Regions from separate parts of the Homo sapiens genome. Here all the other regions are linked to region 2. The links are contacts of gene promoters, found by promoter capture Hi-C in blood cells and fetal thymus (Javierre and others, 2016). All regions are on one chromosome and are shown on one strand. The core of a region is centred on a gene start or on the middle of the fragment in contact, and the rest is flanking DNA. Distances in the headings are between cores, read along the strand shown. Region 1 overlaps LOC105371767 (a long non-coding RNA gene). Region 2 holds the start of ARL5C (ARF like GTPase 5C). Region 3 holds the start of FBXO47 (F-box protein 47). Region 4 overlaps FBXO47 (F-box protein 47). Region 5 overlaps LASP1 (LIM and SH3 protein 1).

What was found. The method cuts DNA at HindIII sites, captures the fragments that hold promoters and counts their contacts. A CHiCAGO score of 5 or more calls a contact.
Region 1: a fragment that was not itself captured here is called in contact with the fragment with the promoter of ARL5C in region 2 in 8 of 17 cell types (total CD8 T cells, non-activated CD4 T cells, naive CD8 T cells and 5 more); the score reaches 7.6 in total CD8 T cells.
Region 3: the fragment with the promoter of FBXO47 here is called in contact with the fragment with the promoter of ARL5C in region 2 in 16 of 17 cell types (naive CD8 T cells, M1 macrophages, naive CD4 T cells and 13 more); the score reaches 10.5 in naive CD8 T cells.
Region 4: a contact is called between a fragment that was not itself captured here and the fragment with the promoter of ARL5C in region 2, in 6 of 17 cell types (naive CD8 T cells, non-activated CD4 T cells, total CD4 T cells and 3 more). The highest score is 7.2, in naive CD8 T cells.
Region 5: a contact is called between a fragment that was not itself captured here and the fragment with the promoter of ARL5C in region 2, in 9 of 17 cell types (naive CD4 T cells, M0 macrophages, non-activated CD4 T cells and 6 more). The highest score is 8.7, in naive CD4 T cells.

Annotation. Positions count from the first base shown.
Region 1 is chr17:39,005,138-39,010,378 of GRCh38, reverse strand. It overlaps LOC105371767 (a long non-coding RNA gene), which reads left to right. Exons shown (of 3, transcript NR_188621.1): 3 at 677-1,333. Among named protein-coding and RNA genes, the nearest start is that of LINC02079, 19 kb to the left of the region's middle. The HindIII fragment of the contact is 3,598 bases long and covers 326-3,923 here.
Region 2 is chr17:39,164,137-39,168,950 of GRCh38, reverse strand. ARL5C (ARF like GTPase 5C) reads left to right here and starts at 2,790. Exons shown (of 6, transcript NM_001143968.1): 1 at 2,790-3,236; 2 at 3,812-3,872. The coding sequence starts at 3,191. RefSeq lists enhancers at 2,360-3,161, 3,162-3,963. The HindIII fragment of the contact is 4,701 bases long and covers 1-4,397 here.
Region 3 is chr17:38,963,594-38,969,055 of GRCh38, reverse strand. It overlaps FBXO47 (F-box protein 47), which reads left to right and starts at 1,653. Exons shown (of 11, transcript NM_001008777.3): 1 at 1,653-1,827. The HindIII fragment of the contact is 5,025 bases long and covers 1-2,263 here.
Region 4 is chr17:38,937,794-38,942,572 of GRCh38, reverse strand. It overlaps FBXO47 (F-box protein 47), which reads left to right. Exons shown (of 11, transcript NM_001008777.3): 10 at 3,841-4,000. Among named protein-coding and RNA genes, the nearest start is that of LASP1NB, 15 kb to the right of the region's middle. The HindIII fragment of the contact is 6,090 bases long and covers 1-4,779 here.
Region 5 is chr17:38,920,657-38,925,481 of GRCh38, reverse strand. It overlaps LASP1 (LIM and SH3 protein 1), which reads right to left. Exons shown (of 7, transcript NM_006148.4): 7 at 3,712-4,825. Among named protein-coding and RNA genes, the nearest start is that of LASP1NB, 2.5 kb to the left of the region's middle. RefSeq lists an enhancer at 2,873-3,483. The HindIII fragment of the contact is 985 bases long and covers 2,382-3,366 here.

The DNA of each region.
Region 1 (5,241 bases), core at 875-3,374, 160 kb after region 2:
ACTTCCAACAACAGGGAGCTCATTACCTTCCTGGCAGCATGCTCCACTGTTGGCAGCTGGTTATTAGAATTTTCCTCCATCAAATGAGGAGAAATCTGTGCATCCTAATATCTGATCTTGAGTTCTGGATCCTCACAGAGGAGGTGACCCCCTTCAGCCAGACCAAAACTGGGCTGGCTTGCACTGGTCCCTAAGGAGAGACTTCAGGAGTGGGTCCAGTGGGTTCCACACTGCTTCATGGGGAAGGGAACACGAATCCATCCTATATCTCACTCCTCGCACCTCCACTGACCAGCACTTCCTGCAGACTTGCCCAGGTAAAGCTTGTCTGCTGTATGTGCACTGCTTCCATGATGGGGCTTTGGGGCCTCAGCTGCAGAAATGCCTGAATTTCCATTCATGGTAGGGCCTCCCACCCTTGAAAGAATAATTATCTGCCTGCTGAGCTGATAGGTTCCCATCTGGTGAGGGCTGAATGCCGTAGTTTTAGAAAAGACACCAGAAAAGGCAAGCTCCTGAACTGGCTTTGACAGATTCCCCCAGCTACTCTAAGGGAAAAAAAAAAAATGACTGAGGTGGGTGTCGGGTAGAGGGTTGGGGAGAAGGCCTAGAAAGGAAAAGAAAATGAATATGGGATGCTAATGAATTCCTGTGATCTCACTGTCTCCTATTCCAGCACATGCTCCTCTGCAGAAAGTGATGGGGCTGCCTTGCCAGCTGGAGCCTGAAACTGTGCCCAGGTAGACAGAACTGCGAGTCCCAGGACAGCCTGGGAAGTGTTGGCTGCCTGGTAATGGAAGAATGTCCAGGATGGAAAACAAGAGGCTGGATCTGCAAATGACATTGTATTTCAGGGGTCTGCTTTCCTGGTCTGCCCCTCCCCACCTCTGTAGCTCCCTCACAGTGACAGCAGAGCTGTGAACCCAGGAACAAACCCCACCATTGCCCCTGTCCTCTCTCATCTCTACTTTCCACATTGAAAAATAATAAAAGAGGCCAGGCATGGTGGCTCAAAACAGCTATAATACCAGCACTAGGATGCCAAGATGAGAGAATGGCTTGAGGCCAGGAGTTCAAGACCTGCCTGAGCAACATAGAGAGACCCACCCCCCAGTCTCTGCAAAAGCTAAAAATTAGCTGAGCATGGTGGGATGCACTTGAAGTCCCAGCTACTTGGAGGCTAAGTCAGGAGGATCACTTGAGCCCAGAAGGTTGAGGCTGTAATGAACCATGATTGTGCCACTGCATTCCAGCCTGGGTGACAGAGTGATATCCTGTCTCTAAAAAATAAATAAGGTAATAATAATAAAATAAATGCCCTCCAGGAGTTTCAGTAAAGGGTCTGAAGTATATAATTTGTACTTGTACCTCAGGCCAGCCTTCTGCCAGTAACCATGATTGCAGGCTGATCCCAAAAGTCGTTGTCTTCATCTGTTTTATGCTACTATAACTGAATACCACATGCTGGGAAATTTACTAGGAATAGATGTGTACTTAGCTCACAGTTCTGGAGGCTGGGAAGTCCAAGAGCATGACACCAGCATCTGGTGAGGTCCTTTATGCAGCTTCATCCCATAGTGAAAGGCAGAAGGGCAAGAGAGCATGAGAAGGAGCAAGCAAGAGAGGGCCAAATTCGCTTTTATAACAACCTGCCCTCTCAATAGCAAACCCACTTCTGCAATAACAACATTAACCTATTCATAAGGGTGGAGTCCTCATGACCTAATCACCTCTTAATAATCCTACTTCTTAGAACCATCACAATGGCAATTAAATTTCAACATGAGTTTTGGAGGGGACATTCAAACCATAGCTGTACAGTTTATATAGCTAGCATGGTCAGGCTCAAGTAAAGCTATCGTAGGATTATTGATTGCCAATCATGTTCCAGGCTATGCCTTAAGTGCTTTGTATACTTGCAACAAATTTGTGAACTGAGAATTATTCTTATGAGTGTTTTCCAAACGCGGAAACAGGGTTCAGAAGACTTAAATAGGAAGGTTGCCCAGACAAAACAGCAGGAATTTGAACCCAGAGGGAATTTGAACCCAGGTCTGTTCTGCTCTAAAATCTGTGCTCTAAAAAAACAAACAAAATTTCTGTTATGGCAAATTTCTAATATACACAAAAGTTCTACAAACTAGTACCATGAATCACCACATATCTGCCACCAAGTTACAATAACCATCAACACAGGGCCACTCTTGTTGCATCTCCCCCTTCTCCCTAATTTTTTTTTTTTGTGTGTGAGATGGAGTTTCACTCTTGTTGCCAAGGCTGGAGTGCAATGAGGCGATCTCGGCTTACTGCAACCTCCTCCTCCTGGGTTCAAGTGATTCTCCTGCCTCAGCCTCCAGAATAGCGCCCACCACCACGCCCGGCTAATTTTTGTATTTTTAGTAGAGACAGGGTTTCACCATGTTAGCCAGGCTGGTCTCAAACTCCTGACCTCAGGTGATCTGCCCTCCTCAGCCTCCCAAAGTGCTGGGATTACAGGCATGAGCCACCATGCCCGGCCTACTTTTTGTATTTTTTTTTTTAGTAGAGACAGGGTTTCACCATGTTGGCCAGGCTGGTCTCGAACTCCTGACCTCAGGTGATCCACCCACCTCGGCCTCCCAAAGTGTTGGAATTATAGGCATGAGCCACCACGCATGGCCAATTAAGTCATTTTTAATGAAAATTAGATATCATGTCATTTCACCCATAAACAGTTCAACATGTGTCTCTAAAAGATAAAGACATTCTTAACCCCCTCAAAATAATATCTTTAGGTGAGAGATTACCAAGAAAATGTCTTGTTGTTCTTTGAAACAGAAAAATGGCAATATTTGCATTACCCCCAAAGGAAGAAAGCATTTCTTCGGATGTCTTGTGGCATTTTAGCATAACGTGGTGGGTGGGGCATAGTCATTGTCTGCTGAGTCCAGGAATGCCCACTGGGCAGCCCCTTAATCACAAGGATCTGTCCACCTTGCCCCGTGGAACAAGCTATTCTGCATGTTACCCCTAAGTAACATCAATTGATCCATAAAGAAAACCTGCTCATACCTATAATCCCAGCACTTGAGGCGGGCAGATCACCTGAGGTCGGGAGTTCCAGACCAGCCTGACCAACATGGAGAAACCCCATCTCTACTAAAAATACAAAATTAGCCAGGTGTGGTGGTGCATGCCTGTAATTCCAGCTACTCGGGAGGCTGAGGCAAGAGAATCGCTTGAACCCGGGAGGCAGAGGTTGCACTGAGCTGAGATCGCGCCATTGCACTCCAGCCTGGGCAACAAGAGTAAAACTCTGTCAAGAAAAAGGGGAGGGGAGGGGAGGGAAGGGGAGGGGAGGGAAGGGAAGGGAAGGGAAGGAAAGGAAAGAGAAAGAAAGAAAGGCATGCCTACTGGAAACCAGATGTAACCGGCTGTGCTGTCTCAGAACCTGTTACATGGTTCCCTGGTGTGTGTGTGTGTGTGTGTGTGTGTGTGTGTGTGTGTGTGTGTGTGATAAGATTCACATTTCTGAACATACCTATGTCTCAGACATTAAGCTAGGTGCTTTCAGATGTGCCAAGAACCTAACACTCAGGTTTTAAAATTTTGATTAGATTCTTGTAGTTCAGATTCCCATTTGGTTCAAAATTCTATTCTGTGCTGGAATAGTAGGGAAGAGAAGATACTCCCTTCAGAGGCTAAACCTATCAATCAGCAGCATTTCTTAAGAGAGAGTGAGAGAAAGAGTGTGTGAGTGTGGGTGAGTGTGTGTGTGTGTGTGTGTAAGCCACCCTGAGAGTCACCCTGGAAAGTACCAAGACTAGGCTATGGTTCCTCCCCTATCCTGCCATGGAAGAAATCTCCCTGCATTGGAGTCCACGGATACTTAGTAATCTCCTTCTCCCATGCTCCAGGGCTTGTGATCACTGTCCTAACAAGCTTGGGAGTTTAGTAGTTAGGGTGGATGAGACAAAAGTACACAAAGAGCCAGGTACGGTGGCTCAAGCCTGTAACCTTAGCACTTTGGGAGGCTGAGGCAGGAGGTTCGCTTGAGCCCAGGAGTTCAAGACCAGTCTGGGAAACATAGTGAGCCCTCATCTCTACCAAAAATAATGTTAAAAATTAGCTGGGCATGGTGGTGTGCACGTGTAGTCCTAGCTACTAGGGAGGCTGAGGCAGAGCTTGAACTGGGGTGGTTGAGGTTGAGTGCAGTGAGCTGTGATCATGCCACTGCACTCCAGCCTGGGTGACAGATCTAGATCCTCTCTCTTAAAAAAAAAAAAAAAAGGTACACAAAGAAGTGGATCTTGGCCGGGGGCGCTGGCTCACGCCTGTAATCCCAGCATTTTGGGAGGCTGAAGCAGGCAGTTCACCTGAGGTCAGAGGTCAGGAGTTCGAGACCAGCCTGCCCGACATGGTGAAACCCCGTCTCTACTAAAAATACAAAAATTAGCTGGGCATGGTGGCGCACGACTGTAATCCCAGCCACGCAGGAGACTGAGGCAGGAGAATCACTGGAACCCGGGAGGCGGAGGCTGCAATTAGTCGAGATCACACCACTGCACTCCAGACTGGGCGACAGAGTGAGACTCCGTCTAAGAAAAAAAAAAAGTAGATCTCCTAGGCAAAAGGTACCAAATACCACAGCAGATGTCATGAGGGGCAATACGGAAAAGCAGTAGCATCAACGTGTGATGAGAAAATCAGGAAAGCATAGGGGAGGAGCTGGTGGCATGTGAGATGTAGAATGTGCCCCAGAACTGTGAGCAGTTTGCTCTACCCAGCCATGTACTATGGACTCTAGAGGCCACACGATGGGTTCTACTCTGCAGTCCCTCCTCGCGATGATGCTGCTGATGGCCCTTATGGCGTGTTGGGGGCTTTGGTCCTATTTGTGCTCTTGGATAAGTGCAAGGTTTCCCCTGACTGCTCAGGGACGTCTGCCCCTAACACGGGACCCTTGTTGCTGGTGGAGATGGCTCTCAGGGTTTGCTTGTTAACCCCACAAAGCTGGGGGTTGCTGCAGCTCTCTGTGACTCTAGCAGATGGTTTGCTGGTTGAATCATTCGTTTTGTGCCACAGTGAGAATGACGAGGGGGTTGGAAGCACTGCTGGAGGGAAGAGTTATACCTGCTGGAGTCACGGCTCAAAATAGACCCATGGTTAGGACTTTTTTTTTTTTTTTTGAGTTGGAGTCTCACTGTCACCCAGGCTGGAGTGCAGTGGTGCAGTCTTGGCTCACTGCAACCTCCGCCCCTC
Region 2 (4,814 bases), core at 1,541-4,040:
AGGTGGGCACTACCACGCCCAGCTAATTTTTGCATTTTTAGTAGAGATGGGGTTTCACCATGTTGGTCAGGCTGGTCTCGAACTCCTGACCTCGTGATCTGCCCCCCTCGGCCTCCCAAAGTGCTGGGATTACAGGCCCGAGCCACTGCACCCTGCCAGAGTGCCCTTTTTTTCAATCCTCCCTGTGATTGGCTACTTTTAGGATCCTGCTGATTGGTGCGTTTTACAGAGTGCTGATTGGTGCATTTTCCAGAGCACTGATTGGTGCATTTTACAATCCTCTTGCTAGCTACAGAGCACTGATTGGTGCGTTTTTACAGAGCACTGATTGGTGCATTTTACAATCCTCTTGCTAGCTACAGAGCGCTGATTGGTGCGTTTTACAATCCTCTTGTAAGACAGAAAAGTTCTCCAAGTCCCCGCTCGACCCAGGAAGTCCAGCTAGGTTCACCTCTCATTTTCTTCAGAGAAGGGTGCCTTGCTTTCTTTCTAAATCAGGCCTTCCTACTGTCTCTCAGAGGGGTGTGTGTGTGTGTATCTGTCTCTCTCTCTAGACCACAAGCTCCATAAAGACCCAGACTGGGAATGGGAGCAGTGGCTCATACCTGTAATCCCAGCACTTTGGGAGGCTGAGGCGGGAGATTGTTTGAGTCCAGGAGTTGGAGACCAATGGCGAAGCCCATCTCTACAAAAAAAAAAAAAAAAAAAAAATAGCTGGGAGTGGTGGCTTTCACCTCTACTCCCAGCTACTCAGGAAGCTGAGGTGGGAGGATCACTTGAGCCTGGGAGGTTGAGGCTGCAGTGAGCCGCGATCCTGCCACTGGACTCCAGCCTGGGTGACAGAGCAAGGTTCTGTCTCAAAAAAACAAAACAAAACAAAACAAAACAAAAACATAAACACCTGGACTAGGTCTGTTTTGTCTACTTCATGTATTTCCTGGCTCATATTTGTCAAATGAATGAATGAACGAATGAATGCTTCTTAAGATCCAGGTCCTGGGCCTCAAAGTGGAGGCAGATCTTCTCGTCTGTTTTTCTATTTTCTTTTCTTTTTTTTTTCTTCTTTTCTCTTTTAATTATTATTTTTTTTAATCAGGCAGCTTCCAGAGCCAGAGTATGCTCAGAGAGATGCCCTCTCCTTGTCTGTTTACTGAATGTGTTTCCAGCTTGCAGAGTGTTACTTTCAATTCTGCAAAGAGGAGGTGGGGAGGGCAGCATGCACTAAGATGTTCCTCCCCGCATCCCACTAACCCCAGGAAACAGATGGTAAAATGCTTAAGACACTGCTGCTTCCCTCAGCACCCTTGGTGCCCCACCCCCCAGCCCCAGACTTGGCTCCTTCTCTCCTAAGGCTGAAATGCAATCAGCCCAGATGGGCTCTGGCAGTCAACTCTATCCTTCTAACTCTGGGCACCAAGCAGGGTGGGATGAAAGTCTGTATTTAGTCAGCTATTTTCCTTCTTCTTCCCGCAAACTTCCCAGCCTTCCTCAATCCTCTTAAACTTGTGTTCACATTCCTTTTTTAATACTCCAAGTGCCATTTCTCAGGCTGTAGCTTAACTCATTCTACATCAGTCTGACAGCAACACATTCCTCCTGTGTGCAGGGTTCTGGACCAGGCAGGGAGTGATTGGGCTGGCGGGGGAGGTCATATGCTGGTTAACAATATATGAATCCCACCCTGGTACTCACAGTTGATGGGAGGAAACAGACTTGCCCGTCTATAAGCCCAGTGTAGGGAGAAGCCCCATGTGGCTGGAGAACCAAGTCAGGGCTGGGGAAGCAGGTGGCTTTTATGGCAGGGCAGCTAATGGGTCTCAGGCATTCTCCTTTCTGAGAAGGTGAAAGGCACTCAAGGAGGAAATGCAGAAGCAAAGGCACCATCAGAAAGAGCCAGGCATGTATAGGCAGGAACCAGTAGATACAGAGCCTGGGAGATAAACCTGTGAAGGCAGGTGGGGGCTGTTCGTGGAAGCTCTTGAATGTCAAGTGGAGACTGATCTGAATCCAGTGAGCAATAGGGAGCCATTGAAGATCTATGAGCTGGGGGAGTTACAGACCCTGAGCTGTGCTTTAGGAAGGTTAATAGGGGCCATGGAGAGGATGCCTTGGGAAAGGAGAGGAAGATGCAGGGAGACCAGTTAGAAAGTTGTTACCTTAATGGAGGGTTGTTACCTTAGTGGAGGCTGCAGGAAGGCAGTACAGTCGGGTGGAAGGAGCTGGCTCCCTGGTGTGTTGGCTGGATCTCCTGCTAACCATTCCTGCAGCCTGAGGGCACGTTGCCTTTTGGACTTCTCCTTTTGTTATCTGATTTTTTGTTTTTTTCCCCCCAGCTTAAGCAAAGAAAGAAATTCACAAGCAACAGCAGGAAACTCCACCTTCCATTCCCTCCTCAGGCCTGGCCTCCTGGTTCTCTGTTGGCCCATGTACTCCTCTGCCAGGTATCTGGGGCCTCTCTGCAGGGTCTCCAGCCGGAGGATCTCTCTTCATGCTCCATCCTTGTCTTCAGGCGCCCACTTTTGGGGATCAGGAAGCTGTGCCTGGGCAGTAGGTTTGTCCGTGAATTGTAGGAGTACTGATTTATCCTAGAAGTTGCCAAGCATCAAGGGGAGACCCTGCCCTTCCCCAGGGGAATGCAATTTGAGTGGGCCCACAAGACCCACGCTAGTGAACCAACTGCACATCTGTGGAGGGTTGGAATATTCTCCCAGCTCAGAGAGGATCGGTGAGCCCTGTCTGTACTACACAGCTGGTAGGTACAGAAAGTGGGTCGCCTGGGGTTTTGCTTCAGTCTAGTGCCCTAGACATGGCACTCAGAGGAGGGAGAGCTGGGATCCGGTTCCGCGCGCAGTGCTGAGTCTCCCCTGATTTGCGGTAGTGGAGCAGTCCACCCGGAGAACTCAGGAGTTTTCGCAGGGCGAGGGGGAGGGCTGGAGCCTGGAACCCCCATATTCCTTGCACCTCTTGGGCCCGGGACAGGCAGCCCTTAGTCACTGGGGTGTCCATAGTGCCCACGAAGGGCCAGCGTCCCAGAGGGTTCCCAGGTCAGGTTGGTGACGTGTGGGGCTTCCCTAACTTCGTAGGCAAAATCTGCCAGACCCTCCCGGGGGAGCGGAGCTCCGAATACCAGGGCCGACTCCGCTCCTGAGGCCGCTGAGCCCTCCTGCACCTGTCCGGCCCGGGAAGTGCCATGGGACAGCTGATCGCCAAGTTAATGAGCATCTTCGGGAACCAGGGTAAGGGGCGCACAGGGCATCCAAGCGAGCGCTTTGATCTCGCCCTCTTCTGGGACTCCTCTGATCTGTGGTCGGACGCACGGGGGGACCTCGGGCTCCGAGGGTCGTATATGGGCGCTCCTCGACTGCCCCGCGGCCTCCCCTGCCCCCGTCCCTGCCTGCTCCTCTTGGGTCCCGGCGCTTCGGTGCGCCCCAGGACGCAAAGCTGGGCGACCCTCCTTTCTCCCCGCTAAACGGAGCCAGCGGCGGGGATGGGGGGCTGCTGCGAGTTTCCTGCGATTGTGACTTCGCGTTATGCTCTTTCTCTAAACACCGTCTCTTGGCAAGCCCCGAAGCGCCCCGGGCCTTTCAGACACTTTTCTGGAATGTGAAGGGAGGTGGGGGCTCAGCTGTCTTTTCCACCGTCCCGGAGTGGGGCAGGTGTCGGAGCTGGGTGGGAAGCAGACGCGGTACGGTGGGCAGAGGTCCCCAGCCTGCGGGGAGCGCTATCTCCTTCCTGGGAGGTCTGGTGGGGGCACACAGTCCCTTGGTCTTCGGGTTTGGCCCTGACGCTGCCCTTCCTCCGACGCTTCCAGAGCACACGGTCATCATCGTGGGACTGGACAATGAAGGAAAGACCACCATTCTCTACCGGTTGTAAGTGACTCTCGGGCGGGGAGGGTAGAGAGCTGGGCCTCCCACCAGACTGACAGGCAGGGGGACCAATCACTGGAGCTCTTCCCTGGGTTCCCGGGCTCCTCTGTAGTCCGGAGGAGCGATTGGGCACGCTGCTTGGACCTTCCTAGTACTGCGGCTCCTCGGTCTGGCATTCAAATCCTGCACCGTACAGGCAACCCTAGCTCCCACTGCTTTCCTCCATCTTCCCGGGGGCCCTGCCAAACCCAGCTCCAGGCCTGCCAAGTGTCCCAAACTGCCTCCCTGCTCTTCGCTCCCTCTAGCGGCAGGTCCCTCCTTTCTCACCCCTGTCCCCTCTGCCAGTTAACTTTCTTCCCCTTCTTCAAACCCAAAGGCTCACTGAGGCTCTGTAGCTCCTGGTCTAGCAAGCCTGGCACATATGGGTGGTGCTGAGTAAATACCGATCGCAGCTTTCCCCGATATTCGCTCTCTGGATGGCACCTCTCCCATTTTACAGCCTCCAAAGTACTTTACTTAGGAGAAGCTTTTCCATGAAAAAGTAATACATGTAATGATTTTAAAAAATTATAAAGGAAAATTTCAAACAATGGAGGAATACACGGTGAAAAGTAAGTTTCCTTCTTGCCTCTGGCTCCTAGTTTTCCTCCTATTGTAACTTTGCGTAACTTTTCAGAAGCATTATTTACATATAAAAGCATGTGTATATTTTCTATGTCACTTTAAACAAAGCACCTCTCTGATGTCCCTCACTGTGTCTGTCTCATTTTTCTAAACTCTTGCTCCTCAAAGTGTGGTCTACAGACCAGTCACACAGGCATCACCTGAAAGCTTATTAGGAATGCAAAACCATGGCCGGGCGCTGTTGCTCTCAAAGTGCCTGTAATCGCAGCACTTTGGGAGGCCGAGGCGGGCGGATCACCTGAGATCAGGAGTTCAAGAGCA
Region 3 (5,462 bases), core at 404-2,903, 200 kb after region 2:
TTTAATCCCAACACTTTGGGAGGCAGGCAGATCGCTTGAGCCTCGGAGTTTAAGACCAGCCTGGGCAACATAGCGAAACCCCATCTCTGCTAAAAATACAATGGTGGTGCCCACCTGTGGTCCCAGCTACTGGGTGGCTGAAGCAAGATAATCAATTCAACCCAGGAGGCAGAGGCTGCAGTGAGCCGAGATCGTGCCACTGAACTCCAGCCTGGGCGACTGAGCAAGACTCTGTCTCAAAAAAAAAAAAAAAAAAAAAAAAGGCCAGGAGTGGTGGCTCACACCTGTAATCCCAGCACTTTGCAGTGCTGAGGTACGCAGGTCACCTGAGGTCAGGAAAAAAAAAGATACAAAGCCAAATGGATGAATATATGTGACTATATAAAATAACAGCATGCCAACTAATCCTAAATTTCCACTCAGTCTTTATGTAGTTCCTTATATATTTTGTGTTGGGTATAATGTAGAATTGATCTACAAAAGTAGAATCTTTCCCCCATTCCCTCTTCCCTCAGCCCTTCTCCTGACTGGCTCCTTCTCCTCCATCAGTTCTCAAATCGTCATATCAAAGGGACCTTGAGTATCAGTCTATCTAAAGTAGCTCTCCGCCAACACACACACACCCCATCATTCTGTCTTATTTCCTCTGTCACGCTGCTCTCACCGGAACTGCTCTCAACATCTGTAGATGCTCTGTCTGTTCATTCTATCTTCCCCATTAGGCTAATAAACTCCATTAAAGCAGGAAACGTATCTGTCTTGTTCTCTATTCCATCCTTAGGGCCTACTCCTGTGCCCGGCCCAGAGCAGGCTTCAATAAATAGTTACAGAATGAATGAAGAAATGAATGAATGAGAATTTAATCTTCTAGCCAGGAAGGCCTAGCTAGAAAGATTTGTCTTGATTTCATCTTGAGAGGATGGAGACACACATCTTCCTTTGATTCCAGACAGATTTATTATTTATGTGTTTATTTAGAGACCGGGAGCGGGGTTATGGCTGGGGGTGGGGGTCTCCCTATGTTGCCCAGGCTGGTCTCAAACTCCTGGACTCAAGGGAGCCTCCCGCCTCGGCCTCCCAAAGTGTTGGGATTACAGGCGTGAGCCACCGCACCGGCAAGACAAATTTAAAAAGGAATGTCTGGAGGTTTTTTTCCACCAAAAGGTTTGATGAAACCCCTTGTAACTTGCCCTACTGGAGTCAGTGGGGGTGGGAGGAACTCAAAAATTGTCTCAAAACTAGGTGAAGGGAAAGGCAGTGGAGCAGAGACGTGGCTCGCCACGTTCAGGATCTTGGGCTACACCCTCCCCTTCCCCACACCGTAACGGCTCCAGCCCCTTCTTGTCTTCAGCTTGGAGCGAAGGGTGGCTGAGGCCTGAGTTTGGGCTCCAGGAACCTCGCCCTTGTTAGTTATTCATGAGACGGAGGGCACCATGGGAGCTGGCTCTCTTGCTATTCATAAAGCGGGGAGGCGGGAGGCGGGGGGGAACCTCCTTCCCGCTAGGGCTTCTGGGAAGATCTACAATATTCATGAGGGAGGCGGGCACTACGAGAGCTGAGGCTGCTTGCTATTCATGAGGGGGCGGGCCTCCTTCCCGCGGGGGCTCTTGGGAAGATTCTACAATATTCTAGAGGCCGCGGGGACGCCTGGTGGGTAGGGCTGCAGCTCCGGAGCCTACGGGAGTGTGACCCTCTCGCCTCCTGGCGGGAAGCTCTTGAGGAGATATTTTCTTTTCTAAACACTAAGAAATTTGAGGATGGTGGGGCAAAACGACTAACTCCCACTTTCCTGTGACTCTGTAGCCGGAAAAACTGTCAAAATCTGTGGTAAAAGAGGGTTTTTTTTCCCAGTATTTTATTGCGATAATTTCATCTTTCATGGACTGAAGGGAGCGAAACATGTACCCCGTGTGGTCTGATTCTCCTGTTGACCAGTTTGTCCTTTAGGCTTCCCTAGTTTGCGGCTTTGGAGATGTTTGGGGGCAGCTGCCCGACAGATGGGGTGGGGCCCTTACAAGAGTTTTATGTTAAAACAGACATCCCTGTGAATGTAGTTTTTATCTTAAAGGTGTGGGGGGCGGGGAGGTTCATCCAATTGAACCCTCAAAACCTTTCACGCGCGGTCAAAATTAGTGGGATAGAACAGGGGGCATGAAACATCATTTTATTATTATTATTTGGGGCTGTGATTCTTATTCGCTAGAGGGGTGAGCGGAAACCAGAAATAATTTAGGATTATACCTTTAGAATTTTCACAAAAGCTTGCTTTTTCCCTACGAAACGTCCAGCTCTGAGTGAGGAAAATAAGGAACTATAAGTGGAGACTTGAGTTTTAGAAGAATTTGGGCTTATCATTTTTAAATTTTTGTTTATATTTATTTTAAACATGTATGTAGTTCACAGTTGACACAGTGAAGTCCCCGCCTGGTGACTGACAGTCTTTGAAGAGCCCACGGGCCCAAGCCCCACTGTCCACATTTCTCAGAGAAACAGGAAGAAGCCAAGGCCGGATTTATGCTATTGTAATAAAAATGCTTTAAAACACCTACTGTGTTGGCCGGGTGCGGTGGCTCACGCCTGTAAATCCCAGCACTTTGGGAGGCCGGGGCAGGCGGATCACGAGGTCAGGAAATCGAGACCAGGCTGGCTAACACGGTGAAACCCCGTCTCTACTAAAAATACAGAAATTAGCTGGGCGTGGGGGCGGGCACCTGTAATCCCAGCTACTAGGGAGGCTGAGGCAGGAGAATCGCTTGAACCCGGGAGGCGGAGCTTGCAGTGAGCCGAGATCGCGCCACTGCACTCCAGCCCAGGAGACTGTGCGAAACTCCATCGCAAACAAACAAACAAAACGCCTACTGTGAAAAGTTAAGGTTACAAACAGCCTTATGGATTAAACAAATTAAGATTATTTTACTTGGTGGAATGACACATAGCCATTAAAATATGATTACTTGTAGAAGGTTATTAGCATGGAAAGAGAATTCATTGAAAAAAGCAGATTACAAAGTATTATATATAGTGATCCCTCTTTTTTGTTAAAAAGAAATATATGTATGTAAAAGTCTGAAATTATATAAACCAAAGTGTTTATAAGTGAACTTAATTTTTTTCTTCTTGTTTAGCTGTATTGTGTAAAGTTGTTATTTGTGTAATTATTTTTTTTTTTTTTTGAGGCAGATTCTTGCTCTGTCACCCAGGCTGGAGTGCAGTGGTGTGATCTCGGCTCACTGCAACCTCCGCCTCCCGGGTTCAAGCGATTCTCCTGCCTCAGCCTCCAGAGTAGCTGGGACTACAGTCGCGTGCCACCATGCCCGGCTAATTTTTTTTTTTTTTTTTTTTTTTTAGTAGAGAAGGGGTTTCACCGTGTTAGCCAGGATGGTCTCGATCTCCTGACCTCGTGATCCACCGGCCTCAGCCTCCCAAAGTGCTGGGATTAAGGCGTGAGTCACCATGCCCGGCCTATTTGTGTAATTTTAATGATAATTTTAAAATACCTCCTAATTTAAGTGTTCACTGAATACTGACCCCAATCGCTGTGGTATGGTTTCAAAGGAGGTTCAGAGTGTACTTTTCACTAAACACTAAATTTCTTTGTTATGTTTTCAAATGTGTAACCAATTTTAAATTGATGTAAGTTGATATGTAACATTTCAAGATGTATAAGTAACAATGTTACTTTAGCAATTTGTAGAAAGGAGAAAATGCATTTTGGCCAGATACAATTATATATCTTTGATGAAAATGTCTTAGTTGTTACTTCAGAAACAAGGAGCCTTCGATTGGAGTTGTAATTATGCGTATATGTATATGTATACACAAAAGACATTGTTTTCTGAATTAGAACAATAGAGTGACACAAAGTCGCTGTGTGGTACACATGTTTAAATAATTATTTAGTGTAATGGGCGGGCGTGGTGGCTTTCGCCTGTAATCCCAGCACTTTGGGAGGCTGAGGCTGGTGGCTCACCTGAGGTCAGCAGTTCCAGACCAGCCTGACCAACATGGTGAAACCCCGTCTCTACTAAAAATACAGAAATTAGCTGAGTGTGGTAGCACACGCCTGTAATCCCAGCTACTAGTGGTGGCACACGCCTGTAATCCCAGCTACTTGGGAGGCTGAGGCAGGAGAATCACTTGAACCTGGGAGGGGGAGGTTGCAGTGAGCTGAGATCGCGTCATGCCACTGCACTCCAGCCCGGGCAGTAGAGCGATAATCTGTCTAAAAAAAAAATTATTTAGTGTAAGTAAATAATCAGTGATTTTAATAAGTTGCATTTAATGAGTTTAAGAAATATTTGTCTTTGAAATCAAGATGCGTAGGCCCTTTCTAAGATTCATCAGTGACTATTATTATTATTGTTATTTTTTGTTTGTTTGTTTGTTTGTTTTTCGAGACCAAGTCTCACTGTGTTGCCCCAGGCTGGAGTGCAATGACATGATCTCAGCTCACTGCAGCCTCCGCCTCCCGGGTTCAAGCGATTCTCATGCCTCAGCCTTCAGATTAGCTGGGCTCACAGCAACCTCCGCCTCCCAGGTTCCAGCAATTTTCCTGCTTCAGTCTCCCAAGTAGCTGGGATTACAGGTGCACACTGCCATCCCTGGCTAATTTTTGTATTTTTTGTAGAGACGGGGTTTCGCTATGTTGGCCAGGCTGGTCTCGAACTCCTGACCTCAGGTGATCCACCCGCCTTGGCTTCCCAAAGTGCTGGGATTACAGGAATGAGCCACTGGGCCCAGCCTAATTTTTGTATTTTTAGTAGAGACGGGGTTTCACCATGTTGGTCAGGCTGGTCTCAAACTCCTGACCCCAGGTGTTCCACCCACCTCCGCCTCCCAAAGTGCTGAGATTACATGGGTGAGTCACGTCACTCGGCCAGTAGCTATTATTAACAGAAGGTGGAATTGAGGGAAGAATTATTACTATTCATGTATTTATTCTAGTCTTATTAACACACAGTGGCTTGTGCCTATAATCCCAGCATTTTGGGAGGCTGAGGTGGGAGGATCACTTGAGCTCAGGAGTTCAAGACCAGGTTGGGCAACACAGGCAGACACTGCCTCCACAAAAACAATTTTTTTTTTTTTACTTTAGCTGGGCATGGTGGCTCTGTGCCTGTAGTCCCAGCTACTCAGGAGGCTGAGGCAGGAGGATTGTTTGAGCCCAAGAGTTCAAGACTGCAATGAGCTATCATCATGCCACTGCACTCCAGCCTGGGCAACAGAGCAAGACCTTGACAAAAAAAAAAAAAACAACAAAACAACAACAACAACAACAAAAACCAACAAAGAAAAGAAGAAAGACTTTAATTCACTGCTTATTTGAGTATTATACAGCACATAATTGGTAATAGTAATGCCACCTACTTTTTTGTGTTGGGATTACAGGCGTGAGCCACCATACCCAGCCTATATTCTTTTAAAAAGTCAAAATATTAATGTAGCTTTAAAATTTCATAGTA
Region 4 (4,779 bases), core at 1,015-3,514, 230 kb after region 2:
GTCCAGGCTGGAGTGCAGTGGTGCGATCTCGGCTCACCGCAACTTCCACCTCCCATGTTCAAGCATTTCTCCTGCCTCAGCCTCCTGAGTAGCTGGGACTAAAGGCATGCACCACTATGCCCCAGCTAATTTTTGTGTTTTTAGTAGAGACGGGGTTTCACTATGCTGGCCAGGCTGGTCTCGAACTCCTGACCTCATGATCTGCCCGCCTTGGCCTCCCAAAGTGCTGGGATTACAGGTGTGAGCCACCACACCTGGCCTAATATTAAAACATGTCATAAACTATAATATTTGGAATCATCCCTTCTATTAACTTCTCCCCACTTCAAGTCTGGATTTTCATTATACAGTTCTGCTAAGTTATATTCTTTTTAAAAAAAAATTCCATGTTAAAAAAAGCATCCCATTTGATTTACTTCAAAATAATCACTGTGGGGGTGGGTTGGGGAGAGGACTTGGGAGTAAATGGAGATAGAGTTGAAATAAGATTGATAATTGTTGAAACTGGGAAATGAGTACTGGGAGTTTATTATATTATTCTCTCTAATTTTGTATAGTCAAAATGTTTCAAAATAAAAAGTCTTAAAAATATATTTAGGCCGGACGGGATGGCTCACACCTGTAATAAACCCAGCACTTTGAGAGGCTGAGACAGGAGGATCACTTGAGTCCAGGAGTTCAAGACTAGCCTGGTCAACATGGCGAAACCCGTCTCTACAAAAAAATACAAAAATTAGCTCGGTGTGTTGGCAACATCTGTGGTCCCAGCTACTCAGGAGGCTGAGGTGGGAGGATTGATTGAGCCTGGGAGTTTAAGGTTACAGTGAACCAAAATTGTGCCACTGTACTCCAGTCTGGGCAACAGAACGAGACCCTCTCCCCTCTCAATACACACACACACGCACACACACATACATATACACATACATATATATATATATATATATATATAATATTATATTTATTTAATATTCATTTAACACAAATTTGTATTGAGTGCTTACTATGGGCCATAAATTATGAGATTCTTGAGCCCAGGAGTTCGAGAGCAGCCTGGAAAACACAGCAAGACCCTGTCTCTATAATAAAAATGTTTAAAAATTGGCCGGACATGATGGCTCATGCCTGTAATCCCAGCACTTTGGGAGACTGAGTCAGGCGGATCACCTGAGGTCAGGAGTTCGAAACTAGCCTGGCCAAAGTGGTGAAATGCCAACTCTACTAAAAATACAAAAATTAGCCAGGTGTGGTGGCAGGTGCCTGTAATCCCAGCTACTCGGGAGGCTGAGGCAGGAGAATCACTTGAGCCTGGCAGGCGGAGGTTGCAGTGAGCAGATCATGCCACTGCACTCCAGCCTAGGTGACAGAGTGAGATGCTGTCTCAAAAAAATAAATAAATAAATAATAAAAAATTTAAAAATTAGCCAGGAGTTGTGGCATGCGTGCCTGTGAGCTCAGCTACTCAGGAGCTGAAGTGGGAAGATCACTTGAGTCTGGGTGGTCAAGGCTGTGGTGAGCCAAGATAGCACCACTGCACTCTAGCCTGGGCAACAGAATGAGATCTCATCTCAAAAAATAAATTACTTAAATAAAAGGCTGAGTGCATTGGTTCATGTCTATAATCCCAGCTCTTTGGGAGGCTGAGCCCAGAGGATCACTTGAAGCCAGGAATTCAAGACCATCCTGGGCAATATAGGGAAAGCCTCAATTCTACAAAACATAAAATAAAACTAGCTGGGTGTGGTGGTGTGTGTCTATCGTCCCTGCTACTCAGAAGGCTGAGGCAGGAGGATCACTTGAGCCCAGGAGTTTGAAGCTGCAGTGAGCTATGGTCACGCCACTGCACTTCAGTCTGCATAGCAGAGGGAGACCCTGTCTCTAAAAAATAAATAAGTAAATGAATAAGTAGGAGTTCACCAGGCAGATAGAGGGTGGCAGCAGATTATTCAAGGCAGAAGAAAAATGGGATCATGTGACTGTATTCAGGACACTGTAAGCAGTTCAGTATGATTTCTGAAGGGTAGAATCTGCAGAAGAGTAGCAGGAGGTGAGGTTAGACATGAAGGGAGAGGCTAGGTAAGGAAGGGTTTTGTGGGCCATTCTGTGGAGCTTGAACCCATTTTCTAATAGGGAGCTACTGAAAAGTTTTATGAAGGGGAGAGACATAATTGGCTTTGTGTTTTTGGCAGATCATTTTGGCAGCACTATAGCAAATGTAATGAAGAGAAAATCACTAGGGGTGGGGAAGCCTTCTCTAGAAAGCCTTCTCTGATTAACATGTCAATTCTGATCATTAAAGTTCTCTGAATTACCTCTGATTTGTCTTCTCTATCTTCATCTACTATTAGTGTCCTTAAGCCACTGTATGTGTGGAGTAGGTCATCTCCCAAAATAGACTGCAAGCTCTTTGAAATCCAGTACTGTGTCACTTATTTCTTTCATAGTTCATAATACAGTGCTTTACACATAATAAATAGTCAATAGATCTTTCCTATCACAGTGCTATTATTTAGTTACACTACTATACAGTTTATTTTAATAATATGCATTATTTATTTGGCTATGTGAGTTAGATTGGCAATTAAGGATGTTAGTAAAGAAACCTTGGCCGGGCGCGGTGGCTCACGCCTGTAATCCCAGCACTTTGGGAGGCCGAGGCGGGTGGATCATGAGGTCAGGAGATTGAGACCATCCTGGCTAACAAGGTGAAACCCCGTCTCTACTAAAAATACAAAAAATTAGCCGGGCGCGGTGGCGGGCGCCTGTAGTCCCAGCTACTCGGGAGGCTGAGGCAGGAGAATGGCGTGAACCCGGGAAGCGGAGCTTGCAGTGAGCCGAGATTGCGCCACTGCAGTCCGCAGTCCGGCCTGGGCGACAGAGTGAGACTCCGTCTCAAAAAAAAAAAAAAAAAAAAAAAAAAGAAACCTTTTACTTTTCAGTCAGTTTTAGCTAGGAACATGTAATCTTTAAATATTTATCTTTTCAATAATGAAGAAACAAATATTCCCTAAAATTCTCAAGATGGAAAGTCGACAATACCATAGAATTCTCTTGCTTATTGAAATTGCCCATTTGTCTATCACCTTCATTGGACTTCTTGAAAATAGAGCCATGTCTTTATGGTTTGTCATTGTATCTTCAGCTCCTAGCAGGTGCTCAATAAATGTTTATTGAATGAGTAAATGAGCAGAAATTTTTTTTCTATGTTCAGTAACTGTTTTCAATACATATATATATATATATATATATTTTTTTTTTTTTTTTTTTTTTTTTTTTTTTGGAGATGGAGTCTGGCTCTGTCCCCCAGGCTGGAGTGCAGTGGTATGATCTCCGCTCACTGCATCCTCCGCCTCCTGAGTTCAAGTGATTCTCCTGCCTCAGCCTCCTGAGTAGGTGGGATTATAGGTGCTCGCTACCATGTCTGGCTAATTTTTGTATTTTAGTAGAGACAGGGTTTCACCATTTTGGCCAGGCTGGTCTCGAACTCCTGACCTCAGGTGATCTGCCCACCTTGGCCTCCCAAAGTTCTGGGATTACAGGCATGAGCCAGCGTGCCTGGCCTGTTTTCAATATTAGTTATTTCATTAGTAAATATTCTTCTATGATAATCTTAAATTAGGCTTGTATTTACTTCATACTTTTTTCCCATTAAAATTGTACCATTTGAAAGCAAAATAGTATTAGATAGAAGAGCATTTCCCATGTATAGACTCAGTATGGTGTCAGGTATCATAAATTATGTAAAATCACAAACTATAATTATTCATCATTGTTCACCATTTTCAAATTCTATAGCTTTCTTCACATGAAGGTTTATAGCGCTTTATATGTCTAAATCAGGTGTGTGAGAAAGAACTGTACTGCATGGATTGGACAGTTAAAATGATGCAAAAAGTCTGCAAAGTCTTTAGCACTCCAGTGGAAAGAAAGAACTTCCTGCAGAATGTGGCAAATGCATTTGCATGTGTTATAATGGAAATGCTGCAATCAATTATGTCTGGTGAGTAGGAATGTACTTGGTGCACAGGTGTGCGTAAAAATGCGCTCTAGTCTCCACCTAAAACAGAGATATTTTTCTCTAACAGTCCAAGAATGGAAAAAAAAAAAAAAGCTATTTCTATGTTGACTTTAAAAAATAAAAACTAACAATAAGTAGAGGAAGCGGACTTTTGTTTGTTTTTCCTTGCAATATATTTAGTTCCTGGCTTTCGTCACTTTAAAAATCTGGTATTGGTTTTAATGGAGAATATAAAGTTGAAGAGTCTGCTTTGAAAGGAACCACTTTCAATTTTGCACAGCAAAAAAATTTAACTTGCTCACTTACCAACTGTCACTAGCATAAAAATATATTTGTAAATATTATTTTACAGCTTTATTAAGTAACCAACATGATAATTAACCCTATTTTACAGATGAGAAAACTAAGGCTTAGAGAAGTTACCTGACTTACCAAGGTCTCAAAGTTAGAAGCAATAAAGCATGGATGAGCATCCTTTTCTTCTGACTTCTAATCTACTTTTCTTATATAATTCCATGATTTCAGTAGTTAACTTGACTTAGTAAAGTCACTAACAAAAAGTCTCCTGTTTAAATATTACTAGGGAAGGCTGGGCGAGGTGGCTCATGCCTGTAATCCCAGCACTTTGGGAGGCCGAGGCGGGTGGATCACAAGGTCAGGAGGTCGAGACCATCCTGGCTAACACGGTGAAACCCCGTCTCTACTAAAAATACAAAAAAATTAGCTGGGCGTGGTGGCAGGCGCCTGTAGTCCCAGCTACT
Region 5 (4,825 bases), core at 1,625-4,124, 240 kb after region 2:
AAAGCCTGGGGGTGGATAGCCAAGGAGATGCCAGATTTAGACCCACAGAACCGCAGAATCAAAGGGGCTCAATTTCTCCCCAGGAACCCAATCCCACCCCTTTGTATCTAAATGGAGCCTGCATGCTCTGGATGTAGGAGGAGATAGGATCCTACCCAGCTCCCCCAAGAGTGAATCCTCCTGACTGCCTTCTTCGCGTTTCCTCTCACACACCTCGGGCAGATTATCTCAGAAAAATCATGGTTGGGTATTGGGTGGGCCATTGGCAACTTCTAAAGGTCACATTATGGGGAGACACAGACAAAAGTTTCGTGTGGATCTCAGTGGGCTTCCCTGAGGGATGAAGCTAACATTTATACATTTCCTACACTGGGCCAGATATCGTACATGTGGTGCAATTTCAACCTCCCTATGAGTCTTTCATAGATGGGGCTCAGAGATGGTCAGAAACTTACCCTAATGGTTCATAGCTTAGATGTGTCAGAGACCAGCCGGGCGCAGTGGCTCATGCCTATAATCCCAGCACTTTGGGAGGCCGAGGCAGGTGGATCACAAGGTCAGGAGTTCAAGACCAGCCTGGCCAAGATGGTGAAACCCTGTCTCTACTAAAAATACAAAAGTTAGCCAGGCTTGGTGGTGCATGCCTGTAATCCCAGCTACTTGGGAGGCTGAGGCAGAGAATTGCTTGAACCCGGGAGGCAGAGCTGAGATCGCGCCACTGCACCCCAGCCTGGGCTACAGAGCAAGATTCTGTCTCAAAAAAAAAATAAAAATAAAAATTAGCCGGGCGTGGTGGCAGGTGCCTGTTATCCCAGCTATTCAAGAGGCTGAGGCTAAAGAATTGCTTGAACCCGGCAGGCAGAGGTCGCAGTGAGCTGAGACCGTGCCATTGCACTCCAGCCTGGGTGACAGAGCGAGACTCCGTCTCAAAAATAAATAAATTAATAAATAAAATAAAAAGTAAAAGGCTGGGTGTGGTGGCTCATGCCTGTAATCCCAACACTTTGGGAGGCTGAGGTAGGTGAATCACCTGAGGTCAGGAGTTCAAGACCAGCCTGACCAACATGGAGAAACTCCAGCTCTACTAAAAATACAAAATTAGCTGGGCATGGTGGCACATGCCTGTAATCCCAGCTACTCAGGAGGCTGAGGCAGGAGAATCGCTTGAACCTGGGAGGTGGAGGTTGCAGTGAGCTGAGATTGTGCCATTGCACTCCAGCCTGGGCAACAAGAGTGAAACTCCGTCTCAAAATAATTAATTAATTAATTAAAAATGTCAGAGACCAGGATTCAAAACTAGGCATGCTGACACCAAAGTCCATATTCTTCCTCTTGCGCCACACTGCTCCCCCTGTTGGTCCGGAAGGCCCCTACACCCCACGTGCACTGCTCAGCTTGCAGTGGACTGCTTTCACATCGATCCACCTACAGGACGAGCACCAGAGACCCCTCCTCCACCCACTCCTTCGTCTCTTTGCAGTCATTACCCACTGTTTTGTTTTCCTTCTTTCTTTTTTTATAGAGACGGGGTCTTGCCATTTTGCCCAGGCTGGTCTCAAACTCCTGGACTCAAGCGATCCTCCCACCTCAGCCTCCCAAAGTGCTGGGATTGCAGGTGTGAACCACCGCACCCGGCCTAGTTTTGTTTTCTTTGGTATCCTCTTCCAAAAGCTCAGCATAGTGTTGTACACAGAGAGGACACTGAAGAATTCCCCAGGGGTATCCCTGAAATTTAAAAAATTCAAGTGGTTTCTTCTGAGGGGGAAAAGAGAATTATTTTATTCTTTTTATTTATTTATTTATTTATTTATTTATTTATTTATTTATTTATTCTTAGACGGAGTCTTGCTCTGTCACCCAGGCTGGAGTGCAGTGGCACGATCTCAGCTCAGTGCAAGCTCTGCCTCCCGGGTTCACGCCATTCTCCTGCCTCAGCCTCCCGAGTAGCTGGGACTACAGGCACCCGCCACCGCGCCCAGCTTATTTTTTGTATTTTTAGTATAGACGGGGTTTCACTGTGTTAGCCAGGATTTTTGTGCCTTTTTATAAGCCTCAATTATTTTCTATTAAATTAAATCATTCCCTAGGACGTCTCTGAGGCCTAGTCTCCTTGGCCCCCACCCCAAATAATATTTTTTTTAAAGGCCTGGGGTTAAGATATATTGGTAACCCCCTCATAATGCAAGACCTCAGGAACTTAGGCCACTGCCAGAAGGAAATCCAGAAACTCCTCCCATTGGCCCATTTCCAGGAGGCAGAGCTTTCTGTGAGCAGGGAGTGGAGACTTGGCAGCAATGTCCCCCAAAGCACTGTTCCATCAAATAGATCTGAAGGTGAATGAAGCCTCCCGGGGAGTGGGGCAGGCCGACATGAGGCAAGCTTTGCCAACTAATTCCCTTCTATTGGGAAAGTATTGGGCTGCCTGCACCCCTGGAGGGGAGCAGGTGTCAGTGCTGTCTCTAATTATACCACCCAGGGCAGCCTTGGATGCTCCCCACATTGCCCCAGCTCAGCTGACTCTGGCCATGTCATTCTCCAGATTACAAATGCTCAGCTCAGGAGAGCCCTCCTCCTCTCCACCCTGCTGTGATTCTGAGGCTGGAGAATTCCTTAGTTCTGAGCCCCAAGAGAGAAATGCCCCTCAAGCAGCTGGACCTGAGGCTGATTGGCAGCACTGAGCAGGGCCAGATTCCCCTCTCTACCACTGTCCTCTTCCCAAGCCCAATGAGCAAGAGGGGAGGCCGCCTGGCCTTCTGGCCAGTCACAGACCCTGGGCACCTGGAGCAAAACATGGAGCCCAGGAGACACACATCTAAGAGCTGCCACAGACACAGGCACGCGGCCTGCCATGGCCGGGTGGCACAGCACCAGACTGTGAGCATCACATGGGGGTCTCAGGCCCCACTCTGCCACTAGCTGTGACTGCCACCAATCTGCTTTGCCTTTCTGGGTTTCAGTGAGCCCCTCTATAAGTAGTTACTTCTCTCACAGGGTTGTGAGGAAGAAGGAAGAAAGGGGATGTGTATTAAAGATTACATTCAGAAGGCACTGTGAATAGTGCTTTGGGTTGCCAGGCCACCTTACAGACAGCTTTATCCAGGTCCCGTCCCACTGTGGAATGCCCTGTCATCTCGTTCCTCAAATGCGTGGAGCTCCTGCTCTCTGCCTGGCAGCGGCAGAGTGCTAGAACTGCTCCCCAGCCAAGCTCATTCATTAATTCAACAGCTCCGCACCGCTCCTGGGCAGGTACCCGGGATTTAGAGATGAATTAGACTCATCACCTGCCCCAAGGGCTCTGGCTAGTGGGGAGACAGATATGTCACTGAGGAAGTGACACAGTAATACGAGACGGAGCTCAGGGAAGCTTCCGGGAGCATCACCAAGTTGGGCAGAGAGGAATGAGCGGGTGGAAAGCCAGAAGTAGGTTGGTGGGGAGTTCTCAGCAAGGAGGAAGTAGGGGCCAAGGGCCTGACAGACAGCAGCAAACTCCCCCTTGGCATCCAGACAAGTCATTCTCTCCCCGAGGGGCAGCAGAGGTCCCAGGAGGGCCACAGGCCAGTGCCCCCAAGCAGACAGGACACACACACACACACACACACAGTGGCACCTTACAGCTAGACACACACACACACAGCAGCACCTTACAGCTAGAGACACACACCCACACACAGACACACACAACAGCAGCTCAGAGCCAGAGAGGAAACCAAGTCCGCAGGTAAAAATTATACTTTTATTTGAGTCACCAGGAGAAAGATTCACTTGTGGTTCAAGTCAAATGTTCAGAATCATAACAGGCCAGAAAGGTTTGATCCCGAGCACAAGCCCACGAGGGAGGGGACCAAAACAGACCAAAATGAGACAACAACCCCATATAAAAAGATGAACTGGCGGCTTCACACACTCACACACATACACATACACACGGATGAAATGTTTGGACAGAGGCAAATTTCACGTGGTCATTTCTGTTTCTTTTTAAATACAGGTTTGTAGGGTGGTATTTTGTTTTTTCCAGCTATAAAAAAAGGCCCAAAAGTGCATGTGTGAGGGGGGAAAGGCAGAAATTAAGCAATAAAGTCATTTTCCCTGGAGGGACATGAGAGGGAGAAAACAGGAGGCAGTGCTGGGAGAACGCACTTTCCTCACCACTGGGCTTCTTGTTATTCTTAGTATTGGTCCACAAAAGTTATATTCACATTCTAGCTTTGATGCCTCTTTCCTGGGATTAAATGAGCTGAAAGACCTCTGTGAACTGTAGAGAAGACCAGGGGCTCAGCCCAGCCCAGCCCAGCCCCTCAGGGCTCTGTGCTCTTCTAGGGATGGATGGTTTTGGTAAAGAACAGACGCCCAGCAGCCCCCGGTCACTCAGCACCAGTGTGACAGTCCCTCCTCTCTCTGGGGGTGTGTAAGAAAACGGCCCCTATTTTTAGGACAGGAAGAGTAGAGGGAGGGCCTGCAGCAAGATTCCATGACTGGCTTGCCTTATCTGGGAAGGAGAATTAAGCTGAGTGAAAACAGGCTGCTTCTTGCTGCTCCTCCCTTCCACTCACCACTCTCCCAAACTCAGGTCCTCTAAGGGGATGTGTCCCTGACCTTTGGTCCCCAAATCCACATTGTGCTTTGAGATCAAGAGGAAACAGAATGCACCAGCGCCACCCAAGACTCCCAAGAGATTCTCTGCCTCCCCGAGCCCCCAAATCGCCCAATATAAGATATTCCACTTGCCTCCACCTAGGCTGGGGCCAGAAAGGAAAAGGGATGGGTCAGGCAGGGCCTCCCCACCCACAGTCTTTTCCTCAACCTCTCATTCGGGGCAAACATC